4 separate regions of the Homo sapiens genome follow, and all the other regions are linked to region 1. Evidence: promoter capture Hi-C in 16 types of primary human blood cells and fetal thymus (Javierre and others, 2016). All regions are on one chromosome and are shown on one strand. Each heading gives the region's core, a stretch centred on a gene start or on the middle of the fragment in contact. The rest is flanking DNA. Distances are from core to core; before and after follow the strand shown. Region 1 holds the start of RPL22 (ribosomal protein L22). Region 2 overlaps WRAP73 (WD repeat containing, antisense to TP73). Region 3 overlaps LRRC47 (leucine rich repeat containing 47). Region 4 overlaps CEP104 (centrosomal protein 104).

Region 1 (5,589 bases), core at 1,733-4,232:
CAGTTGGGAGGGGCTCGAGCTGAGGACCACACTAGGTAACCATGAGCAGAGAGGGGGAACTGAGCTTGAGACCCCCAGAGGATAAGAAATTAAGAAAAGCCAGGAAGGCTGGGCGCAGTGGCCCACACCCGTAATCCCAGCACTTTGGGAGGCCAGCGTGGGTGAATCTCTTGAGCCCAGGAGTTCAAGACCAGCTTGGGCAACATAGCAAGACTCCCCCCTCTATAAAAAATACTAAAACTTAGCTGGGCATGGTGGCTCGTGCTTGTAGTCCCAGCTACTTGAGAGGCTGAGGTGGAAGGATTGCTTGAGCCAGGAGGTTGAGGCTGCAGTGAGCTGTGACTGCACCTCTGCAGTCCCACCTGGGTGATAGAGTAAGACCCTGTCTCGAAAGAAAAACAAAAATAGAAAAGCTGGGAAAAGTTCCAAGCAGAGGCAAGAGCAAGTGCAAAGCCCCAGAAATGGGAAGACATTTAGAGACTAGCAGATCAATGTGGCTGGAGATGAAGGAGCTCAGGGTGGGGAGTAGGGCTGAACATGGCATGGGAGTGAGGATGGAGGATGGGGGTGAGGCTGGAGAGGTGGGGGCGGGGCAGGGGGTGTGGGGTGAGGGATGAGGGTTTGAGTGTGGGGAGGTGGGGGTGAGGGTGAAGAGGTGAGAATGGGCTCATGAGGGTCAGGGTGATCTACGGGACACTAGTCTAGAGATGCCAAGGATGCCACTGGCTGTACCTGTGGGGAGTCCAGGGAGGGGTAGAGGCTGCACACATTGGCCTGGGGAGTCATATTTAAAGGGAAGAGCATGTGGGTCTTGTCTAAAGATCAAGTGTAGATAAGGACGGGAGGAGGCTGGGTGTGATGGCTCCCGCCTGTAATCCTAGCACTTTGGGAGGCTGAGGCAGGAAGATTGCTTTAGCCCAGGAGTTCTAGATCAGCCTGGGCAACATAGCCATAGTGAGACACCAACTCTCTACAACAGCAAAACAAAACAAAACAAAAAAACATGCAGCTGGGCATGGTGGTGCACACCTGTGGTCCTAGCTACTCAGGAGGCTGAGGTGGGAGGATTGCTGGAGCCTAGGATGTCAAGGCTTCAGTGAGCCGTATTCGCACCACTGCACTCCAGCCTGGGCAACAGAGCGAGAGCCTGTCTCAGAAAAAAAAAAAAAAAAAAGAAAGAAAAAGGAAAGAACAATAAAAGTCAACTGCTGAGAGGGAGGTTTAGGAAGAAGGGGCTGGCATTATGACTGAGGTGTGAAATAGTCTTTTGGGCCAGGTGCAGTGCCTTATGCCTGTAATCCCAGCAATTTGGGAGGCCAAGGTGGGAGGATCACTTGAGCCCAGGAGTTTGAGGCTGCAGTAAGCTATGATCACACCACTGCACTCCAGCCTTGGTGACAGAGCAAGACCCTGTCTCTATTAAAAACAACAAGAAAGGGAAATAGTCCCTTGGGGGAGAGATTTAGGATTGTCAGTAGCCCTGAGGGCTCGCTTAGGGTCCGTTATCAGCCAGGGTCCAGTCAAAAGACAACACATTATAGTTTTTAACTGAGAGAATTTAATATAAAGGATTGTTAACTAGGTATAAAGATGTGTTTAGGTAACTGTCGGGGTATAATACTAACAGTAGCAACTGCAGGAAGTAGCTACCACTGGTAGGTGGTATTATTAAAATGTAGATGCTTGAGGAGGGGCACAGGGAGGTGAAACTCAGACATCTGAGGAGAGGGTGCTGCTCTGCTAGGGCTGGTGTCTCTGAGGAGAAAACGAGGCTGGTTCTGCAAATGTTGGAATAAGTGCAGACTGGATTCCACTGCTGCTTCCAGAATGTTCCAACTGCCACCTCCAGGATAAAGAAGCAAGAGTGGATGACACCAGACAGGACAGGAGCAAGCAGGAAGCAAAGCCCCCTATTGATAGAGCCAAACCGGGATCAGCTGGAAAGCAGAAGTGTTTGCAGAGGCCCAGCCTGATCATTATAGAGCCAAGAACAGCAGCTGGCTTTGGAGCTTGGTCAACCGGCTTGAGGCCTGAGTTGAAAGCTAGACCCATCAGCACAGTCTCTTCTGGTGATTGGACTTTTGCTAGGTGAGTACACTGAAGCCAGGTAAAGGGAGTGGAGAGTGTGTGTGCCACTGAGTGATTTACAATTCAGGATCCTGGAATATAATTCCGTGAGGACGCAGCGGGTGACTGGGTGCAAAGTAGCCCAGTTCAAGGGACCTGTGGGCCTGGGGATGAGGACCTTTGCTTCTCCACATGCGGTCCATGGACTCGCAGCATCAGCATCGTCTGAGAGCTTGTGAGAAATGCAGAATTTCAGGCCACTGAGACCGCTGGAATTGGAATCTGCATTTTCCAGATCTCCTGGTGGTCCTCAACTACTTACTGGTTTGGGATGGGAAACTAGAAGGCTTGGGCTGGGAAACTAGGGAGTGGTGATCAGCGAGGGGGCGGCCTGGCTACAGCAAAAAGGACAGGCACTGGGAGACAGCCCCTGGGCATGAGCTTCCAAGCTGGGGCTTTTTGAGGAAGCCATAGTGGTCTGGCATTGGGACCTCTGAACGAAATTTCCCGGTGGCTACAAGGAATTTTCCCACTTCCCCAAATTAGTAGATTCGATTTCCATCCCACTAGCTGGTAATTTACAGTATAGTGAATTTCCTTATTTCTTTTTTCTTCCCAAGACTTTCAAAAAGTAAAGCCAACCCCTTTATTTATCTTTGGGCTCGTCCAGTCTGGCTTCCCCCCTCCGATCGTTCGCAGTGGGACAGCCCGCCGGGCCTCCTTCCTTCCCCAGAAACCCTCCAGGCCTGGGAGAGGACGCGTTTTGCATTCAGGAAAAACCAATCGCTCCCCTATCGTACATAACCAAGAGAAAAGGTGGCGGACGAGGGGCGTGGCAAAGTGATTAGTGCGGCCTGGACCCTGCGTGCCTTGCGCGCTGCGGGCTCTTTGCGTCTGCGTAGTTCGCTCACCTCCCTTTCTAACTCCGCTGCCGCCATGGCTCCTGTGGTTAGTATGGCTCCGCGTGAGGCCTCGGCTCCAGGGGAGGCACGTGGGCCTCGCCGAGCCCGGCATCTACCCAGGCTCGCTGGGGACGGCGCCCTGCAGCGTCCTGCTGGGGTGGGCTGGCAGGTCGGCCGGAGCGGGCCAGAGCCCCTGCCGATCCCAGCACGTTGTAGGCGGAGGAGGCCGCGGCCCGAGGCTCGTGAGGGAGATCCGGGAGGTCTCGGAGGCCCGGGGCCCCAGCTAGGGGCTAGCGGGGAGCTGGAGCCTGGAGACTGCGGTCTGGGCCGGCCACTGGTCCTCGGACCCCGGCCGGGGGCCTGATTACCTGGGTGGAGGGCGGGGAAGAAGAACGGGACCTGCTACCCTGGGGAGCCGCGCATTCGGAAGTCCACGGCCAAGACTCGGGGACGAATCCGCGGAAGGGCGGCTTGGTCGGCGTGCTTTCGGAGAGGAGGCCTGGGTTTGAGGAGCTTTTTAGCGTCCCCAGAGGAAATTAGTTTATCAGGGCGCACTGTACAGACCCAAACGGGTGTTGCAGTGGTGTAGGGAGAAGGCTCTCATTGCATTCTCCTTTAGCTATGCTGGGACTGGGCTGTGCGGCGCCCTCCTCCTAGGTTATTTGAGAAAGTTGTTTTTCCGTGTTCTTCGTCCCAAGATCCTACTTTTCCTCTTTTGTTGGGACTCCCTGGTTAACATTTCCGGTTCTTCTGCTCTTTCTGTCTGGTTGGGCTTTTGAATGCCTTTTGGTTTAAAACCTTGATGGAGAAGTATCAAGCCCGTTGTGGGTAGGTCTCTTGATTGATTGTGTGTGTTCGGAATAGATCTTAAAGTACCCCTCTTAGATTATTACTGCGAAGAGACGTTGTAAAAAATAAATCAGTGATTTTTGTAGTGGCCAAATGTTTGAAAAGTTGATCCAGTTAACACAAGTTTTAGATGAAGTTCTTTTAAACATGAAGGGAGGTAAGATGTGTTTTTGGAAAAGTCTATTTAGTTCTGCAGAGCTTTTAAACGTGAAAGTACAGGTTGGTACGATGCACAAGTGCATTAATGGTGTCAAGTTTGTAGAGAGATAAGATTAACACAAGCTTCTTCGTAAGAGTGAAGAAACTGGAACCTTGTAGGATGTGCTTTGCCGGGTGGTTTGGAAGTACTAATGCATAGATGAAGCGAATCAAAATGTCAGAAGTTCTTGACGGTAGTGTTGTAATAAGATTCTAGGTTTTAGCCTTAACCTTGTCCAAGCTGGAGTGGACAGGCACCTAGAATACTTTGCAACTCCCTTCATGAGAAGGTGGATGAGACAGGATTAAGGGAGATGAGCTAAGACGGATCAGGACCCTACTCTGAACATGTAGGACAAGGATTGATTTCATATGAAAATTGTGGGTATGCAAGGCATTTTGTATGCCTGCACTCTAATTTTGGAAAAATAGTATTTTTTTGAAATTGGGAATGTTAGGGCAAACAAAAGGAAGTGTTCATTTTATTGTGGTTCATAAACTAAGAGACCTTCATGCCTGTAGAGATTGGGGAGACTGGAAAGTTTGAGTGAGTCAAGAGTGCTAGAATGATTTCCCCATCAAAAGGGCATGACCCCAGGCCCCAAGCTTGTACAGCAGCATCTGCCCCATTATACCTCTGGCACTCAGGCAGTGATGCCTCTTGGCCCTCTGGCAAAGGGAGCACACTTCCGTTAGTTTTGTATTTGTATGGACTTTTATACCTATGACGTTTCTGGTTCTGTTAATCTTGTTTTTCCGACTGACTGAAACTTCATCTCTGTTATCATTTGTGTATTTTCTTAGAAAAAGCTTGTGGTGAAGGGGGGCAAAAAAAAGAAGCAAGTTCTGAAGTTCACTCTTGATTGCACCCACCCTGTAGAAGATGGAATCATGGATGCTGCCAATTTTGTAAGTTACATCCTTATTGCCACTCGGGTGGTCACGAACATTTTGAGATACTGTTGAGAAAACCTACTGGGGTACATTTCTGTTTTCAGGCTTATAGGCAGCTTCACAGGTCTGGCTGTATCATCTCACCCTGGGAATGTGGGCAGATTACTTGTTTGTTTCCAAGTCTTGTTTCTTCTTGTGTGTGCAACAGTTGTGAGGAGTAAAAGGAGATGGGCTTAGAATAAGCAAGAAGGGCTCTAGCACAGAGGTGTTAGAGGACTATCTTGTTTTTCTCCTTTAGTTTCCACAAATGATTTTACTTAAAAGTTACCCAGAAACAAGCCAGGCACGGTGGCTCACGCCCGTAATCCCAACACTTTAGGAGGCTGAGGCGGGCAGATCATGAGGTCAGGAGTTCGAGACCAGTCTGGCCAACATAGTGAAACCCCGTCTCCACTAAAAATACAAAAAAATTAGCTGGGTGTGGTGGTGTGCACCTGTAATCCCAGCTACTCGGGAGGCTGCAGTAGAAGAATCGCGTGAACACGGGAGGCGGAGGTGGCAGTGAGCAGAGATCGCACCATTGCACTCCATCCTGGGAGATAGTGCGAGACTCCGTCTCAAAAACAAAACAAAAAAAGTTACTGAGAAACAGACAAATTTCACTGGGTCCATGGCATCC
Region 2 (5,589 bases), core at 1-2,500, 2.6 Mb after region 1:
TGAGCAAGTGCCCCAGACAGGTGCGGGACCCAGGAAGATACCCTAGACAGGTGGAGGGCCCGGGGAGGTGCCCCAAGCAGGTGCGGGGCCCAGGCAGGTACCCCAAGCAGGTGCGGGGCCCAGGCAGGTACCCCAAGCAGATATGGGGGCCGGACAGGTGCAGGACCCCGGCAGGTGCCCGGGCAGGTGCGGGACCCAGGAAGATACCGTAGACAGGTGGGGGGTCTGGGGAGGTGCCCTTGGAAAGGTGGGTATCGGCAGTGCCGACTGCACACAGGTGAGGGTATAGGAGATGTCGGCTCTTTGTTGTTACTTTGTCACAAAAGGCAAATTGATGATTCTGTTGCCTGTAAACTGGTAAGTGGTGTGGCTACTTTGTCATCTCTACTTCTCCTCTAATTCTCTTCTCCTCTACCACATGCCGAATAAATGATTTAAATACTAGTATTCTATCCCCAGGTAAGGAAGTAGTTGTCCTCATGGCTGGGATTTGAGGTCTTCGTTCCATGGGTGGCAGAAGGGTGCTTAAATCACAGAGCTATAACTTTAAGCTTCAAAACATATAGTGTATGTACCTGGATGCCTAGTAGTGTATATCCTCAGAAGAGAGGGATAACCCGGATGCCTAGTATGTATGTCCTCAGAAGAGGGGGACAATTGGCATTGGAAAGCCACTAAGAAGAAACATGCCTCGTAAAAAGTGGGCTTCGTTTTCCTTATCCACCACCTGTACTAACTGACTGATGTATCATGATGCTTTTTCAGGTTTTGCCACTCCTGACATTCCTGTGCTCTGTCTAGCTTTTGAGAGTTTAACTCTCAAATTACGTTTTTTACCTCTTCAGGGAGGTTTTATTCCAAATCACATAAAATAGCATCAGCTACAAAACAGAAAACCTCATTAGTTTAAATGGCATCTCAGCCTTGGTATATTTTCAATGTGCCCCCCTCCTCAATTAAATGAGAGGTTTGTTTTTTGTTTTTACCATTTATGAAAATTTCAGTGAATTATAAGGAGAAAGATTACATCTGCTTGCTTAACTTGGGTGTTTTTTTCCAGCTTGTACACTCTGGTCAAAATACCCTGAAACACTTGGTAATGATCTGTTACTGGAATCATCTTCTTGAAAGCCCTGAGGACTGGGGAGAGCAGGTCCATGTTTCTAGTTTTCATATCTTGCAGTAGAGTTTATGTGGTTCCTCAAGGTGTTGGTAAAAATATTCCATTTCATAAGGAATTCACTGTAACTGATCACAGTTTTCAAAGCTACAGTGTGAGAAAGTAAGTGCTGTGGTAGCTCCTTGTTCCAATCTGCCGTCACCCGCCTGTCTCTCTTTTCTCCCACGGAAAACTAACGTGGCTTTCTTTTTTGATATCGGTTCATAAAACACAAACTACTTTGACCTTGATAAGTAAAACTAACGAAGCAGTTAATATTTAAACATCAGTTCTTGATCTTGAAACTGTAGTAAAATATACATTCAGCAGGTGAGTACTCAGGCGTTATTTTTACTTGAAATTGTTTGCTTGGATAGGGACATAATGAACAAATATGGACAAGAAGAAACTATCTTTAAGAAAATAGTACTAACACTTAAACATTTCCCGTTTCGTGTTAGGAATAGGTTAATGGAGATAAATGAGCATTTGCGAAGCATCTTTATGTGTGCAGAAGTGAAAGCCTGTCTTTTGATCTTCTGTTGTTTTGGCTCTGAGTTCGGCACTGCATAAGAAGATTGATGCATTCCTTGCCATTTTCGTTGTCATCTGTGAAGCCTCAATTCTTACCCTTTATAAATTTGAGGAAATTGTCCAAAAGTGTTTATAAAACTAGCAGAGGATTTTGGTTATTAGTTCACAGAAGAGCTTTCTCCCAATGCTACTTCCCATTTAAGTTTAGTTTTTAACATACAGATAAGAAGGGACTTAAAAATGTCTTAAAGCTTTAAGTAGCGAGTTAAAACATACTTTTATACTTTACAATAGAGTATAGCAATATTAAAACCTGGCTTGTATATTTCAACATTACCCTTGTATGAACTGAACTGATCTTTAGGGGCTGGGGATGTCACTGGTGATCTAGACATGAAACCTCTGGCAGGAGAGAAGGCCACAGTCACTGAAGGCCAGGGCAGTAGCATTCCGAAGGCCCCCCTCTTTTGGAGTGGAGAATGTCAGGTGCTTGCTTTCTCATATTTTTTAGGCTTCCTGTGTCCAGTACCGGTTAGTGGTCCGGGATGTGAACACCCTTCAGATCCTTCAGCTGTACACGTGCCTAGACCAGATCCAGCACATCGAGTGGTCGGCAGACTCGCTCTTCATCCTGTGCGCCATGTACAAGCGAGGGCTGGTGCAGGTGTGTGCTGCCGTGTCGCTTAGAATCTGGACACCTTCTGAGGGCCCCTGGGAAGGAGGGGTTTTGTTCTGTGCCTTTCTAGTTTGAAAAAAAAGTCCGTGCAGCTCAAAGCCAGTTTTCTTTTGAAATTATAACGTTCTCTAAAGTTTAAGAACATTTAAACTAAGGAAACTCCAACGTAGTCTTAATTTCTAAGCAATATAGTTGAGAAACGGAGGTGTTGACAGCAATCTAGCCACGCGGATGTGGTGTGTTTCAGGAAGTCCTAAGAAGTCGTGTTTTCTTCTGTGTCCAAAGCTTAACTAAATGAGGTCTTAGGAATGACAATGTGAATAAACAGTTTTAAAACAACAACGAAATGAAATCACCAAGAAGCGTGGCTTACTTTTACACTGGAATCCAGCACCAGCCCTTCATCATGAAAGGTTCTAAAAGACACCCTGTGTGATCGGGTCTCTGCTGGTTTTAAGGGAGTTGTCTCTCGGCGAGGCCTCGCTATAGACTGCTGATGAGTTTGAAGACACCCTGTGCGGTCGGGTCTCCGCTGCGTTTAAGCGAGCTGTCCTCGCTGTCTCTCGGTGCTGATGAGTTTGCACTTGTGTGTTTCTTTCTTCTCTCAATCCAGGTCTGGTCTTTAGAGCAGCCCGAATGGCACTGCAAAATAGACGAGGGCTCAGCCGGGCTGGTGGCCTCGTGCTGGAGCCCGGACGGGCGCCACATTCTCAACACCACGGAATTCCATGTAAGTGTCAGCCCCAAGACACCTTACTGGCCATGTGATCCTGTCCTCTGCTCTCGAAACAGCTGGGGAGTGCGAGAGGGGGTGTGTTTGGAGTATGCTAGTCTCCCCTTATCCTCAGGGGATGCATTCTAAGACCACCAGGGGATTCAGATTGTACCAAACCCTGTATTTCCTGTGTTTTTTCCTATACAGCATACCTGTGATACATTTAATTTATAAATTAGATACAGTAAGAGATTAGCAACAATCATAGTATAGAACAAGGATAACAATATACTGTTTATAATTGCATGGATAGAAGATTTGGTCTTACTGAAGATCTGAGCAACAACCTCAGCATAGGATTTTTTCTTTCCTTGTTGCGTCAAGAACTTTCAGCTCGTCATTTAAAGGAAGCACTTTGTGGCTTCTCTTTGGCGTATCCAGATTGCGAGCCCCACCGCCCGTGCTTTGGGCTGCTACTGAGTCAGATAAGGGTGTCGTGAACACAGGCACTGTCTGCTGCCCTGGGTCTGATGACTGAGGTGGCTCCCGAGTGGCTGGTAGATTGGCGGGGTTGGAGGGAGCCGGGGAGCGTATATAGTGGTGTGTATATTTTAGGTCAGAGCATTATAAGCCACTAAGTATTATTGTCTGATCTTTTGTCCAGTTTTGAAGAAAAAACATTTTAAAAATCTTAATTTAGATTTTTTAGGATTTCGGCACTCCCTTTAATTCAACGATAGAAAATGCGCTGTGATATGAGCCGGCTCGCACCTTTCCTTCAGGAGCCTGGCCTGGGGGCGTGGCTCGGGGCGGTCGGCAGCCGCCCATTCACCTGCTGTAGGTACCGCACAACAGCCTCCGTGCTGAGCTCAGCGCGGAGGGGAATGTTGACATCCGAGAATAAATCAGAGGGATCTGGGATAGGAGACTGCATTTTAAGTTAAAATTAGGCATATGTCAAGTGTTTAGATACCAGGTCTTTGGTGTCCGCAGTGTCTTTTTAAGATACAGAAAAATGGACGAATTCCTTTAATAATGTGCTTTTCTGATGGAGTTGGATCCCAGTGTTTGGGCCCAAGTCCACTGAGTGCTCATAGCTGTCTGGGCTGCTGGCTGCACCTCGGTAACCCGCCCATCCCGCTGCGCCGCGCACACCACGGGGCAACCCGCCCATCCCGCTGCGCCGCGCACACCACGGGGCAACCCGCCCGTCCCGCTGCACGGCGCACACCACGGGGCAACCCGCCCGTCCCGCTGCGCCGCGCACACCACGGGGCAACCCGCCCGTCCCGCTGCGCCACGCACACCACGGGGCAACCCGCCCATCCCGCTGCGCCGCTCACACCACACTGCAGCCCTCCCGTCCCGCTGCGCCGCGCACACCACGTAGATGATGGCACCTGGGAGGATTTCTCCCAGCGTGTGGCTGCAGATGCTCTGTAGGGTTTCATTCGGCTTTTTTCAAGCTGGCATCGGCTGGGATAAAGTTTTATCCAGCCATGAGGGTTGCTGAATCAACTGCTTCAGATGGCTGGATGGCTTTACATATTTTTCAGTTTCGATTTTAAAAAATACTCCAAATCTAATGTCTGCTATTATGGGCTGTCAGAGAATAAGACAGGAAACAAAGGCCCACCAATGTCTCCGCACTATGTATTGACATTGGAAGGCACTTTCGGCCTGAGTGTTTCAGAGAGGATAATTTGAGCTTTTCACGCAGCCGTGTCTAACAGTCTTCAGGCCTGTAATGCTTTGGGCCCAAATCTGCCCTTGAGAAGGGCTCATGTCATGGGGTCAGCCTTGTTGTATTATCTTATTAAATGGCCCAGAAGGAAAACTACCATCTATAGAGTTTAGAAACCTTAAAAGATGGATAAAAGCCTGGTTTTGTTGAGCATCCCATGTCACACACACCAATATTGAAAACACCTTTGCTACAGAACAAACTGATTTTTCATAGAGTACATTTAGATGACATTGTTCAACCTAAGACTAAGGTCATGACCACTTTGCTGGTGGCCTTAGAGGAAACGTTAAGACCAGGTGGTGGATGAGGACCGGTAACCTCAAGGCATGGGGCATCTTGACCAAGATGTCAAAATGTGTCTCCAGCTTTGCATGCGAACTTTAATGGTTGCAAGTGAGGAAACAAAACCGGAATTCCAGACGTGCTGGCCAGGAAGTGAGCTGCGGGCACCGTCCATCAGTCTCATTCACAAGAGCAAGGACCAGACCCGTTCGAGGATTAGCGGGGCCACTAGGTCCCCTTCTGAAGGCGCGACCCCATGTCCGGGGCTCAGCGGGGCCACTGGATCCCCTTCCGAAGGCGCGACCCCATGTCCGGGGCTCAGCGGGGCCGCTGGGTCCCCTTCCGAAGGCGCGACCCCATGTCCGGGGCTCAGCGGGGCCGCTGGGTCCCCTTCCGAAGGCGCGACCCCATGTCCGGGGCTCAGCGGGGCCGCTGGGTCCCCTTCCGAAGGCGCGACCCCATGTCCGGGGCTCAGC
Region 3 (5,589 bases), core at 1,580-4,079, 2.4 Mb after region 1:
GCGTGAGTGGTGCTCTGCTCCTTGACTTCCCACCCGTCCTGCTTGCCTCTTTTTTGCTTACTGTGTTGGCAGACAGCAGCATGTCTTCCCTGGGTCACCTCTCATCTCCAGGTTAAAAAGGTATTTTTTATTTGCAGAAAATGGCAGAAATGAAAAAGTACACTTTAGAAAATAAAGAGGAAGGATCACTCTCAGATACTGAAGCCGATGCAGTCTCTGGACAACTTCCAGATCCCACAACGAATCCCAGTGCTGGAAAGGACGGGCCCTCCCTTCTGGTGGTGGAGCAGGTCCGGGTGGTGGATCTGGAAGGGAGCCTGAAGGTGGTGTACCCGTCCAAGGCCGACCTGGCCACTGCCCCTCCCCACGTGACTGTCGTGCGCTGACGCCAGGGCCGCCTGTCCGCGTTTGTTTGGCCGGTTTTGCGGAGGTTTCTATGCGGCAATGCTGAATTATCCGTTAGATTTTCACCCCAGTTTTTTTGTTGGTTTTTTTTTTTGAGATGGAGTCTCGCTCTGTCGCCAGGCTGGAGTGCAGTGGCGTGATCTCGAGTCACTGCAGCCTGTGTCTCCTGGGTTCAAGCGATTCTCCTGCCTCAGCCTCCCAAGTAGCTGGGACTACAGGTGTGTGCCACTAAGCTCAGCTAATTTTTGTATTTTTAGTAGAGACGGGGTTTCACCATTTTGACCAGGATGGTCTTGATCTCTTGACCTCATGATCTGTCCACCTCTGCCCCTCAAAGTGCTGGGATTACGTGATCCACCCGCCTCAGCCTCCCAAAGTGCTGGGATTACAGGCGTGAGCTGTGCCTGGCCCACCCCAGCATTTTTTAAGATGTATGTATTCGTTGTTCTGTTTTTCCAGATGATTCTGTCGTAAAGTGATGCTATGTTGTCGTTACAACATCAAAGTGATTTTACGGTTTTTGATGGGATTATTCAAGTGTCAGAATTAACTGTTCAAAATGTTCTGAATCATGTAGATACATGGCAGGTAACTGTTTATGGGAGAAAAGTACAGTGCTGTTACGTGGCACTGTACAGTCATGTGCCACGTAACAGCGTCTGGGTCAGTGACGGACACTTACCTGACAGCGGATCCACAATATTCTCGTGCAGTGTGTTTGGAATCCTGGTCTGGGCTCTCGTCGTTGGCCTTGTAGATCAAGTAGGGGAAGTGAGTGATGTTCAGTCATGCTGCTGGGACACTTGGTTTTCCAGATGAAAACACATAAATAAAACTACATGCACCATCGAGGCTTGTGTAAAGACTCTGTGATCACACAGCAGCGGCTAAGCACACGTTTCTCATGTGTCACTGAGCGACACGTGACTGTCACTGGTTCGGAGACCCGAAAACTTGGGAAGCCAACCGATGTGCGTTTCCTTGAACGGCACGGTCACTTTCTATGACGCAGCATCTTGTAAAACCATATCATGCCAGGATGCAGCTTGGCATGTGCAAGGGCGTTGGGTTCTCCAGCTGGCAGTGATCATAATCTTGGGGGGAAAAGTTTTAATGTGACCTTAGAATTGGCAGAATTGCGTCTCTTCATACTGCTGTTGGATTGCTTTGTGGGGGTGGAGATGTGGAGACCCCTTCAGGCAAGCAGCCTGTAGGCTGAAGGCAGTGGCAGCACCTCACCCTGGCTCAGCGGGGCCAAGCGGAGGAGAGCGGCATCGGTGGGGTTTCCATCGTGTGCACGCTGGTGCTGCAGTGACAGGCAGGTGGAGCCCCAGGAGTGGACCAGACGCCTCTGCTTGGGAAGCATCGGCAGTCCTCAGCCAGCCGAGGGACAGATGGTAGCAAAAGCTGGAGGATGCTTAGGTTTTTGAGCCAAAAATCTTCATTTATGCGCCAGAAAGGTGGGTCCTGGGCGCCTTCTGTTGTAGACGTTTCCGTTGTGAATGTCCAGGTCAGACCCCCACGTCCATGTGTCTTCGTGTATGTCCAGGCACCACATGTGCGTGCACACCACTCCCGGGAGTCAGTGTGCTTGGCTCATGAGGACACGGCCAGCCACCGCGATGATTTTACAGACCCCACTGCCTTACGATCTGGGTGCCATGTGAGAAGCAGACTCATCAGCTTTATCGAATGACACCATTTGTTCTCTGTTCAGTGTCTCGATTTCTGTGTCTGTAGAAATGACTGGTGATTTTGGGAAGCATCTGCAAGAGCCCCACAGCCCACACACCTTTAGTTGTCAACCTGAGAGGCCCGGGGCCCTGTGCAGTGGGCAGACTAACAGCTGGGTGGCTCTTCAGAGCCTTGCAGGACATGGGCCAGGCTGCCTTGAGACCTGGACCCACTTGTCTGGTCACCGCCAGGCCTTCCCGTCTCGCCCACTGTGGGAGGGAGGGGACTCCAGACAGGACGAGGCCCACACACTCAGTGCCAGCTGGACTGCCGTGGGTGTGTCAGATGACTGCCTTGCCTTGTGTCCTCCCAAAACCTGATTCCTGCTGCTCTGGGCAGTCAAGGCAGATGCCACAGTTGGCCAGGGGCCTGCCCTGCTGGAGGCTTGAGGCGGCACGGGGGCTTCCCCAGGCCAGGACTCTGCTGGAGTTCTGGGGCTGGGGACCCCAGACAGTTGCTCTGAGAGGTGATTTGGGGCTGCCATGGCAGAGGCTGCCCTTTCTCTGCATGGCCCGGCCCAGCCCGGGAAGGAGGAAGGGAGGAAGGGAGGGATGCTGGAGCTGCCATCTTGGCTCCCGGGGACTTGGTGTCCATGCTGTAACACATCTGTCACTGCGTGGGTGTGGATGAGGCTGCCACATGCTGTGCCCTTTCCTGATGCAGCTTGTGATGCGTGAGATGCTGGAAATGTATTTAACTCGCAGCACAGGTGTCTCTGATGTTTTCTTCACCCCACCCCACCCCCCGACTCACTAATAAAAACAGCTCCGCACCTGGCCCAGCAGATCCTTTCCCACCGGCACTGCCAGAGGTTGTTGCTCGAAGTGTCACAAAGCTCACTCTAGCCCAGTGGTGGCTTCTATGTGGGGAGGCTGAGGGCCTCCTGTCCCCACCCAGATCTTGCCAGCAGGGAGCAAGAGGCACCTGCCACTGTCATGGGGAAGCTGGTGCCCTTGACCAGGGGTCCTGGGAACTGGCCTCACCCTGCTGGGCCCCTGCCTGGAGCACAAGGTGGACCAGAGGTGTCGGGCTGCCTGGATACCCCAGGTGCACAGTCAGAGGAGCCCAGGCCCCAGACGCATCCACAGCAGATCCTCCTGTTCGTGAGTCTCTGGGAGGGTAGGCCAGGCGGCCACTCAGCAGGGTCCTGTCCCATCCTCTCCCCAACCCTCCCAGAGCTGTAAGGACACTGCTCAGCTCAGCCTAGGTCCATGACCCTGGGGGTACTGGGGCTGGAGCTGCTGTCTCCACCATGGTCACTTAGGGGACAAGTGGTGTGCCCGAGAGGCGGCTGTGGGTTACTTGAGTGCCTGGCCCAATGAGCACCCGTGGGTGTCTGCCTGTAGCCTCCCCTGCTGGGGCTGGCAGGGCTGCTGGTGGAGCCCCTGGCTGAAGATGCTGGGCCCCTGCCAGGGCGGACCCAGATGCAGCCAGACAGATCCAGGGCAGACCCGACATGCGCCTGTGCCATCTGATGCCAGCCCCTGACAGGTGGGAAGGAGCATTTGTGGGGGTGCGTGGGCATCACTGGCATGCGGGACCCGTGGCAGAAGCACCAGGGCCACTTCCCCTCTGACTGTAGAACTGGGACAGCTCCCATCCCCATCCTGTGCCCTCGCCTGTCTCCTGGGCCGCACCAGTTCTTGGGGAGGCCCAGCCCCAGGACCCCCAGGTCGGAGTGCTGCCTTCTGGGGCCCATGCAGCCAAACTGCTGGGCCCAGCGGCCTCTGCCACTTCCTTACAGCAGCCCCAAGGCAGTGCTGTCCTGTGAAGCTGGGCTTCAGGGAGGGTACCAGCTGGCTACTCCTTTCCCTCCTTGGGAGTGGCAGGTCAGAGGTAGGGATCTCTTTTTGAAGATCCAGGCTGTCATGGGGCTGGGGCAGGCAGCAGCCCACCCAACAACAGGCTCCCAGGAAAGCATCATTGCTTCAGACCGCAGCCCAGGACAGGCCCTTGGGCTCCCTCCTTGGGTTTGGAGCCAGGAGCCTTGGGGCAGTGTGCAATCAGCCATGCAGCTCCACCTGCCACCGGCTGGCCCAGGCAGATCTCAAGTGAGCCTGCTCGCCCCAAAGGCGGATGATGTGGAGTCTGCCTCCCTACCAAGACTGGCGCAGCCCCTCCTGTTTACCTGACTTGATGCTTTCGGCGGGACCTGGCCTGGGGCAGGCGCAGCCTCAGCCCTCCAATAACCTCATCTGGCCCTGTGGCCTCCCTTCTCTGTGCCCGTGAGGATAGTGGCTGCCCGTGTCTCCCACCCCCAGCCCTGGGGTGAGGACCCCTTCCCTAAGGGGATGTTTCTGGCAAGGCTTTTTGGGATCTTTTGTGGTAGGTGAGGGCCAAACACAAGACCCAGGAAAGCACCTACCAAGAGAATGGAGGTTGGGACCGGGGGCTGGGACTGGAGGCCAGGATCGGGGTGGGGGGAATGGGACCGAAGTCCCTGGGACACAGCTGAGGTCCAGCCACATCCGGGTCCCCAGGCCTGCCGGCTGTCCTCGCCAGAGGGCCCAATTGGTAGGGGTGCATTCCTAGAGCCACATGGGAGGGGGGCCTGCCCCGGGGAAACAAGCCCTTCCCACAGCCTTCCTGGATGTCACGCCTGGCCAGGTAACTATGGCAAGGGCTGTCATCCACCGTTCATTCAACAGACACTTAATGCCTCTGTACACAGGCTCTTGGCCCACAAGGAGTACTTGGAGGGACCAGGCCCATCCCTGGGGAGGGAGGGTAGACCCGGGTCCTCCCTGGCAGCCGCCGGCCCCAAGAGGGACACACCCAGCCTCTGCGCGTGGTGGGCTGCCTAGGAAGAACTGTGCCCACTTACTAAGGAAGATATGGTGCATCTGAGACAAGGGCGGGGGACACATAGCCACCCTTACAAAACCAGGAGTCAGAAAGGCCCAGAGAGGACAGGGGCCTGCCCAGGGCCACACAGCTCTGCACACTGCTCCCACGGAGGAAAGCAGCCGGGAGGATCCCACCCCGGGGGGCTGCCAGGGAGGTGGGCTCGGTTTGTCCGCTGAAGGAACCCCTCATCCTGGCCTTCACAAGGGAAGGGGCTGGGCCCTGGGAGAGAGGAGGCTGTAGCTGGGGGCTCCAGGCCGCAGGGCCCAGCCTGGGTGTGTCCTGCAGCTCCTGCTGAGGCTGGGCCCAGGCCTCCCAGCCACGTGTGCCCAGCTGTTTGTAGGTCCTTTGAAGGGCTGTGTGCCAGGTGTTTGTGCGCCCCCGTGTGGGGCCGATGACAGCTGTGCACCTGGTGTCTTCGTGTGCCTGGCTGCCAGCGCGTGTGCCCTGTGCGCTGTGTGTGCCGCAGGGTCCGTGTCTGTGGGGGGGTCCATGTGTACAAGGGGTGTGTCTCCAGGCCTGTGCTCTCACGTGTGCGGCCAGCCCCCCGCGTGCATGCGGGGCAGCATTTATTTGCACTTGTGCACATAGTAGCCTGTGAGGTAG
Region 4 (5,589 bases), core at 962-3,461, 2.4 Mb after region 1:
TTCATGACTTGCTTTCAAGCCTGAGAAGTTACTATTTATTCCTAACCCGCGAACGCGTAAATATGTATGGCATTTTAAATTCAGTGATATAATTCTGTCTTGCTTTTATTCAGAAGTCAAGTTGCTGAAAATTGAATGTAAATCTCATTTACAATTAAAATGTATTTTCCTTTTGGAGTTTTTGAGGAGATGCAACAAATAAGACCCCCTGTCCCTGCATTTCCCGGAAGTGAGTTCTGAATGAACTGAGAAATGAAGCAAGAGTCAAGCAGAAGGGGCCAGACAGCGCCTTTGTCACCCGCAGAGCTGGGATTGCAGGCGAGCCAGCGTCCTGATACTGCCCAGGCCGTGGCCGATGCACTGCCCATGCAGGCAGCATTAACACGGTCCAGCCTGTGGCTGGAGGGCAGGAGGAGGAGCACACCCACGGGGGCAGCCCAGCGCTCTGCCCTCTCCTCCCAGACTCCCCATGACCCTGCTCATGCCTCTCCCAGGCAGGAGCATCCCTCTGCAGAGGTCCTGTACGCTCACAGCACATGTTCCGTGTTATTTGGGGATTGAAGATTCTCAAGTATACACACAGCCACCCTTTTTGGTAGTAGTTATAAAAATCACACCAGTATGGTTCTCTTGTGCATTGACATGGTATTGCTTTAAAGGGCATAACCTACACTCACTTCAGTAACGTGCTTTCAGAGGATGTACCCAAGAAAAGGATCTGTGTGCCCTTGGTCACCACAGACTCCCACTGGGTTTGGCTCGGGGTCTCTTGACTTCCCTGAGGTCAGGCACATCGCAGAAAGACAAAGGAGGATACCCTGAAGCCGAGCCTCCCAATGACAGTACAAGGCACCCTGTTACCACAGGTCATAGAAAATGTGGGACCCTCTACGTCGGAGCTCAGGGCATAGATTGATGCACTTCCAGGAGAGACACTGACGGGGCGGTTAAAGAGATATAGGGAGACCCCCAGTGCCGTTCATGTGACCTCAGAATTCAGAGAGCCTGAAGCCTTCAGAGCAAGACGTTTTTCCAAGAAACCGTAAAGTTTGCACCAACCGTAGCCCCTGGGCATCCATTTTTTTGGTTGTCAAATTATTTTTAGTTTAAAAAATCTGTATCTGTCAATTTATCTTGAAGGGATAAATGCATACTAGCCTTTTTAGCTGTGTGGTTTCTTTTCATATGCAGCTTGAAAGGTATTTTTGATTCATCTATAAAGTGTTCATCAGCTACATTTGAGTAGCTAAATCATAGGCCCTTTTTGGAAGGATTTTTTAAAGTACAGTCCTACATCACTCAATCATGGGGACATTCTTTCTGAGAAATGCATCATCAGTCGATTTCATCGAACACCTAGAGTGCCCTCAAACCCAGATGGTACAGCCTACTGCTACACACCTAGGCTCTGTGGCATAGCCTATTGCTCCTGGGCTGCAAACCTGTACAGCACGTGACAGTGCTGAACACGGTAGCAAGTGTAACACAAGTAGGTATCTGTATATCTAAACATAGAAAAGCTAAGTCAAAATACAGTGTTGTCATCTTATGGGACCGCTGTCTCATGCAGTGCATGACTGTATACAACTTCAAAGCTTTGCCGGTTGTCTTGGTTTTCTTTAAACAGTTTTGGAGTTTTTTTTTTTTAATAAAGATTTTTAACTAATGGATTACTTATTGTCCTTATGTTCAGATAATCTCGCCATGAATGATAATATATGTGCCCTGTATTTAAAAGCAGTAACTATCTAAAGCAGCCCTTTACTGACATGAAAGACTAAAGAATTTCATTTCAAAAGTTGCTTGGTTTCCCAATTTGTGCCAGCTGCCCTCCTGCCCCAAATGTGCCTGTCTTGAACTTTTGCATTTTTGGAAGCAGTGTGGGGTCTTTGCTGACTGCTGTGATTCTCTACCCAACTCTTAGTTATTTAATACGTTGTGTTACTTTTGGGCTGGGCCCAGTGGCTCACACCTGTAATCACAGCCCTTTGGGAGGCCGAAGGGGGAGGATCCCCTGAGCCCAGGAGTTCAAGACCAGCCTGGGCAAAATTTTAGCCAGGCACAGTGGCACACACCTGTGGTCCCAACTCCTCAGGAGGCTGAGGTAGGAGGGTCACTTGAGCCCAGGAGATCAAAGATGCAGTGAGCCATAATCACACCGCTGCAGCCTGGGTGACAGAGCGAGACCTTTTCCCAAAAAAAAAAAAAAAAAAAGTTATGTCACTTTTGAGCAAAGAAGCTCCAGCATGGCCCATAGCATAGGCTTGTCTCCCTAGACCACTATGCGTGAAAGGCAGGCACTCCTTAAATATTGATACCTTGGGGCCCTTAAGCATTTGAGTTCCTGTGGAAAATCCTTTGGCTCCGTCCTGCCCACTAGTGCCGCCTCATAAGATTGATTTATCTTATGAAAAACTGCAGGTTTCACATCAGACCATTTACTAGCTGCCAAGAGTATGATTCCTATAGGGTTACAGGCAGATCAAGTCAAATTTCAATTCCCAGCTTCAGCTCCAACAAGAAAAGCTCGAGAGAACAGGAATCATGTCGCAGGCATCTTTGTACCATCAGTACCTACAGACTGTTCTGTTCAAAGTGGGTGTGTGGTTAATGCTTCTTACCTGCAAGAATGAGATGCTAGCATCTAGAAACCCTCTGCAGAAGTTGTTCAGAAAATATAAAAATGTGTTTGCTTTCAGATTTTGCCAGTTTCCACAAGAAATTGTCCTTCAAATGGTGGAGAGATGTCGAATAAGGAAACTGCAGTTACTTGCTCACCAGTATATGATTTCAAGTAAAATTGAGTTCTACATTAGTGAAAGCTTGCCTGAATATTTTGCACCCTATCAAGCAGAGCGGTTTCGAAGACTTGGGTAAGAATGAAATTTAAAATGTATCATGGCAGCTTTTAGGCTAATTCTACCTGAAAGCTCTTTTTTTTTTTTTTTTGAGATGGAGTCTCGCTGTGTCACCCAGGCTGGAGTGCAGTGGTGCAATCTCAGCTCACTGCAGCCTCTGCCTCCCGGGTTCACGCCATTCTCCTGCCTCAGCCTCCCGAGTAGCTGGGACTACAGGTGCCCGCCATCACGCCCGGCTAATTTTTTGTATTTTTAGTTGAGACAGGGTTTCACCATGTTAGCCAGGATGGTCTCGATCTCCTGACCTCGTGATCCGCCCGCCTCGACCTCCCAAAGTGCTGGGATTACAGGCGTGAGTCACCGCGCTCGGCCCTGAAAGCTCTTAAAAATGAATTGTCCCTTAACTTTTGGTCCTGTGTTATGTACTTCTATTTGGTTCAAGAGTACACAGTTTCTTAACACCTGCCTCTTATTGAATGTGCTTAAAAAGCAGCGCTATAATTTCTATGAATTCTGCTATTCAACTCTACTTTTCAGATGTGGAAATTTTCTTAAGAATGCTAATTAGATGACCAATCTGGCCAACATGGTGAAACCGTGTCTCTACTGAAAATACAAAAATTAGCCGGGCATGGTGGTGAGCGTCTATAATCCCAGCTACTTGGGAAGCTGAGGCAGAAGAATTGCTTGAACCCGGGAGGTGGAGGTTGGAATGAGCCAAGATCGCGCCACTGCACTCCAGCCTGGGTAGCAGAACAAGACTCCATCTCAACAACAACAACAACAACAAAAGAAGAATACTAATTAGAATTTGAGTTCTAGGGGTTTTTCCTAGGTTTTTCATTCTAGACTTAGCTTTTATTCAAACCTGTTGATCCTGCATAGGGGTAGTCTAGCTTTAAAAAATAAAACAATAAACATAAATGAGCCTATTGAGTTCAATCAGAGTAGGGAGCAGTTTTATTGAACAGCACATTTTCAAATTCTTCAGTTGTGTTTTGTTTTTCAGCTACGTGTCTCTCTGTGATAATGAAAAGACAGGTTGCAAAGCCCGGGAACTAAAATCAGTTTATGTGGATGCAGTAGGACAATTTCTTAAACTGATTTTTCACCAAAACCATGTCAACAAATACAACATATATAATCAGGTAAGATGCATGCAGCTTCGCCTTTGATTCTGCCCCTACCTTCTTTGTGGGATTATGTGGTCACGTATCTTTTCTTAGATGCATTTTCAAGGTGATCTTATAAGAGAGGATCTCTTCTGGGAGACTGCTGAGCTCTCTGAGCTGTGCTGTCTGATCCAGCAGCCTCTGGGCACACGTGGCCAGTGCCCACCACGAACTGGCCTAGTGCCCAGAGCTGCTGCCAGCATCACCAGACAGTGGGCTTCAGAGACTCAGTACAAAAGGAGAACGCGAAAGAGTTCATGAGAACTTTTATGTCAATTGTATGTGATGAAATGATAATATTTTGGATATGTTGTGTTAACCTATATTTTTAAAATTAATTGCATTTTTAAATTTTTTAATGTGCCTACTTAACCTTAATGACATATGTGGCTCACATCCTATTTGTGTAGGACAGCACAGTTGTAAATAAACCCTCCCAACGTGCACAAGGTAAATTCCCTGGTGGAAATTGTGGACACATGAATGTTGCATGTAATCCAGAATCTCTCCAGCTTCAGGCTGCTAATTCTTCATCTCTTCCTTCCTCCCTCCCTTTCTTTCCTTCTTTTTTTCTTTTTCTCACATGATTAGTGTAGTAGAAATCAATTGTGTCCAAAGCAATCTTGTTAATTAGCACAAGCATTTACAACTCTCCCTGCCCCCTCCAAGAGGAATGTGAGCACCCAGCAAATCAAATCTCTAGACCAAGCGGGTGAGCTGGACAAGAGCGCAAAGGTCCAATTAAGCTGCCTGGCCCCTTGCAGCATAACACGCCAGGAAGCCAGAAGAATGAGTCTTAACCCTGTTCCTTCCTCCACCCACCTGCATGTATTTACCAGCAATGACCTGGCTGTTGTCTTGGTTTTCTTTAAACAGTTTGGAGTTTTGTTTTTTTAATAAAGATTTTTAAATAATAGATTATTTATTGTCCTTATGTTCAGATAATCTCGTCATGAATGATAATATATGTGCCCTGCATTTAAAAGCAGTAACTATCTAAAGCAGCACTTCACTGACATGAAAGACTAAAAAATTTCATTTCAAAACTTGCTCGGTTTCCCAGTTTGTGCCAGCTGCCCTCCTGCCCCAAATGTGCCTGTCTTGAACCTTTGCATTTTTGGAAGCGGTGTGGGGTTAGTCTACAGTGGTTGGGGGTGCAGGATGGAAAAGTGACTCCCCACCTCAGGTGAGACTCACCAACTGGGAACTGAGCTGTGTTAACTTTTCATTGTCTAATTTCCCAAGATCCTTCAAAGATGAGCTCCATACTGAATCTCACGTGGATGTCTCATTTTGAGGCTATGTTAAAACTTTGGGAGTTTTTAGCTATTATGATTTGAACTTTTTTTTTTTTTTTTTTTTTTGAGACGGAGTTTCACTCTTGACTCTTGTTGCCTAGGCTGGAGTGCAGTGGTGCAATCTCGGCTCACTGCAACCTCTGTCTCACAGGTTCAAACAATTCTCCTGCCTCAGCCTCCTGAGTAGCTGGGATTACAGGCATGTGCCTGGCTAATTTTGTATTTTTAGTAGAGACGGAGTTTCTCCATGTTGGTCAGGCT

What was found. Contacts are between HindIII fragments. The CHiCAGO score rates a contact against its expected background, and 5 or more counts as called.
Region 2: a fragment that was not itself captured here is called in contact with the fragment with the promoter of RPL22 in region 1 in 1 of 17 cell types (erythroblasts); the score reaches 6.5 in erythroblasts.
Region 3: a fragment that was not itself captured here is called in contact with the fragment with the promoter of RPL22 in region 1 in 2 of 17 cell types (naive CD4 T cells and naive CD8 T cells); the score reaches 6.9 in naive CD4 T cells.
Region 4: a contact is called between a fragment that was not itself captured here and the fragment with the promoter of RPL22 in region 1, in 3 of 17 cell types (total CD4 T cells, erythroblasts and M1 macrophages). The highest score is 6.6, in total CD4 T cells.

Annotation. Positions count from the first base shown.
Region 1 is chr1:6,196,988-6,202,576 of GRCh38, reverse strand. It overlaps RPL22 (ribosomal protein L22), which reads left to right and starts at 2,982. Exons shown (of 4, transcript NM_000983.4): 1 at 2,982-3,015; 2 at 4,821-4,925. The coding sequence starts at 3,004. RefSeq lists a silencer at 3,091-3,230. The HindIII fragment of the contact is 15,793 bases long and covers 1-4,102 here.
Region 2 is chr1:3,644,176-3,649,764 of GRCh38, reverse strand. WRAP73 (WD repeat containing, antisense to TP73) reads left to right here. Exons shown (of 12, transcript NM_017818.4): 2 at 2,205-2,357; 3 at 2,983-3,099. Among named protein-coding and RNA genes, the nearest start is that of WRAP73, 3.1 kb to the left of the region's middle. The HindIII fragment of the contact is 1,393 bases long and covers 554-1,946 here.
Region 3 is chr1:3,775,885-3,781,473 of GRCh38, reverse strand. It overlaps LRRC47 (leucine rich repeat containing 47), which reads left to right. Exons shown (of 7, transcript NM_020710.3): 7 at 138-2,915. The coding sequence ends at 386. It overlaps SMIM1 (small integral membrane protein 1 (Vel blood group)), which reads right to left. Exons shown (of 4, transcript NM_001288583.2): 4 at 5,518-5,589. The coding sequence ends at 5,553. Among named protein-coding and RNA genes, the nearest start is that of SMIM1, 5.9 kb to the right of the region's middle. The HindIII fragment of the contact is 9,771 bases long and covers 1-5,589 here.
Region 4 is chr1:3,845,892-3,851,480 of GRCh38, reverse strand. It overlaps CEP104 (centrosomal protein 104), which reads left to right. Exons shown (of 22, transcript NM_014704.4): 3 at 2,700-2,873; 4 at 3,868-4,006. LOC124903829 (a long non-coding RNA gene) reads left to right here. Exons shown (of 2, transcript XR_007065439.1): 2 at 179-1,670. Among named protein-coding and RNA genes, the nearest start is that of CEP104, 8.5 kb to the left of the region's middle. RefSeq lists an enhancer at 383-883. The HindIII fragment of the contact is 1,227 bases long and covers 1,598-2,824 here.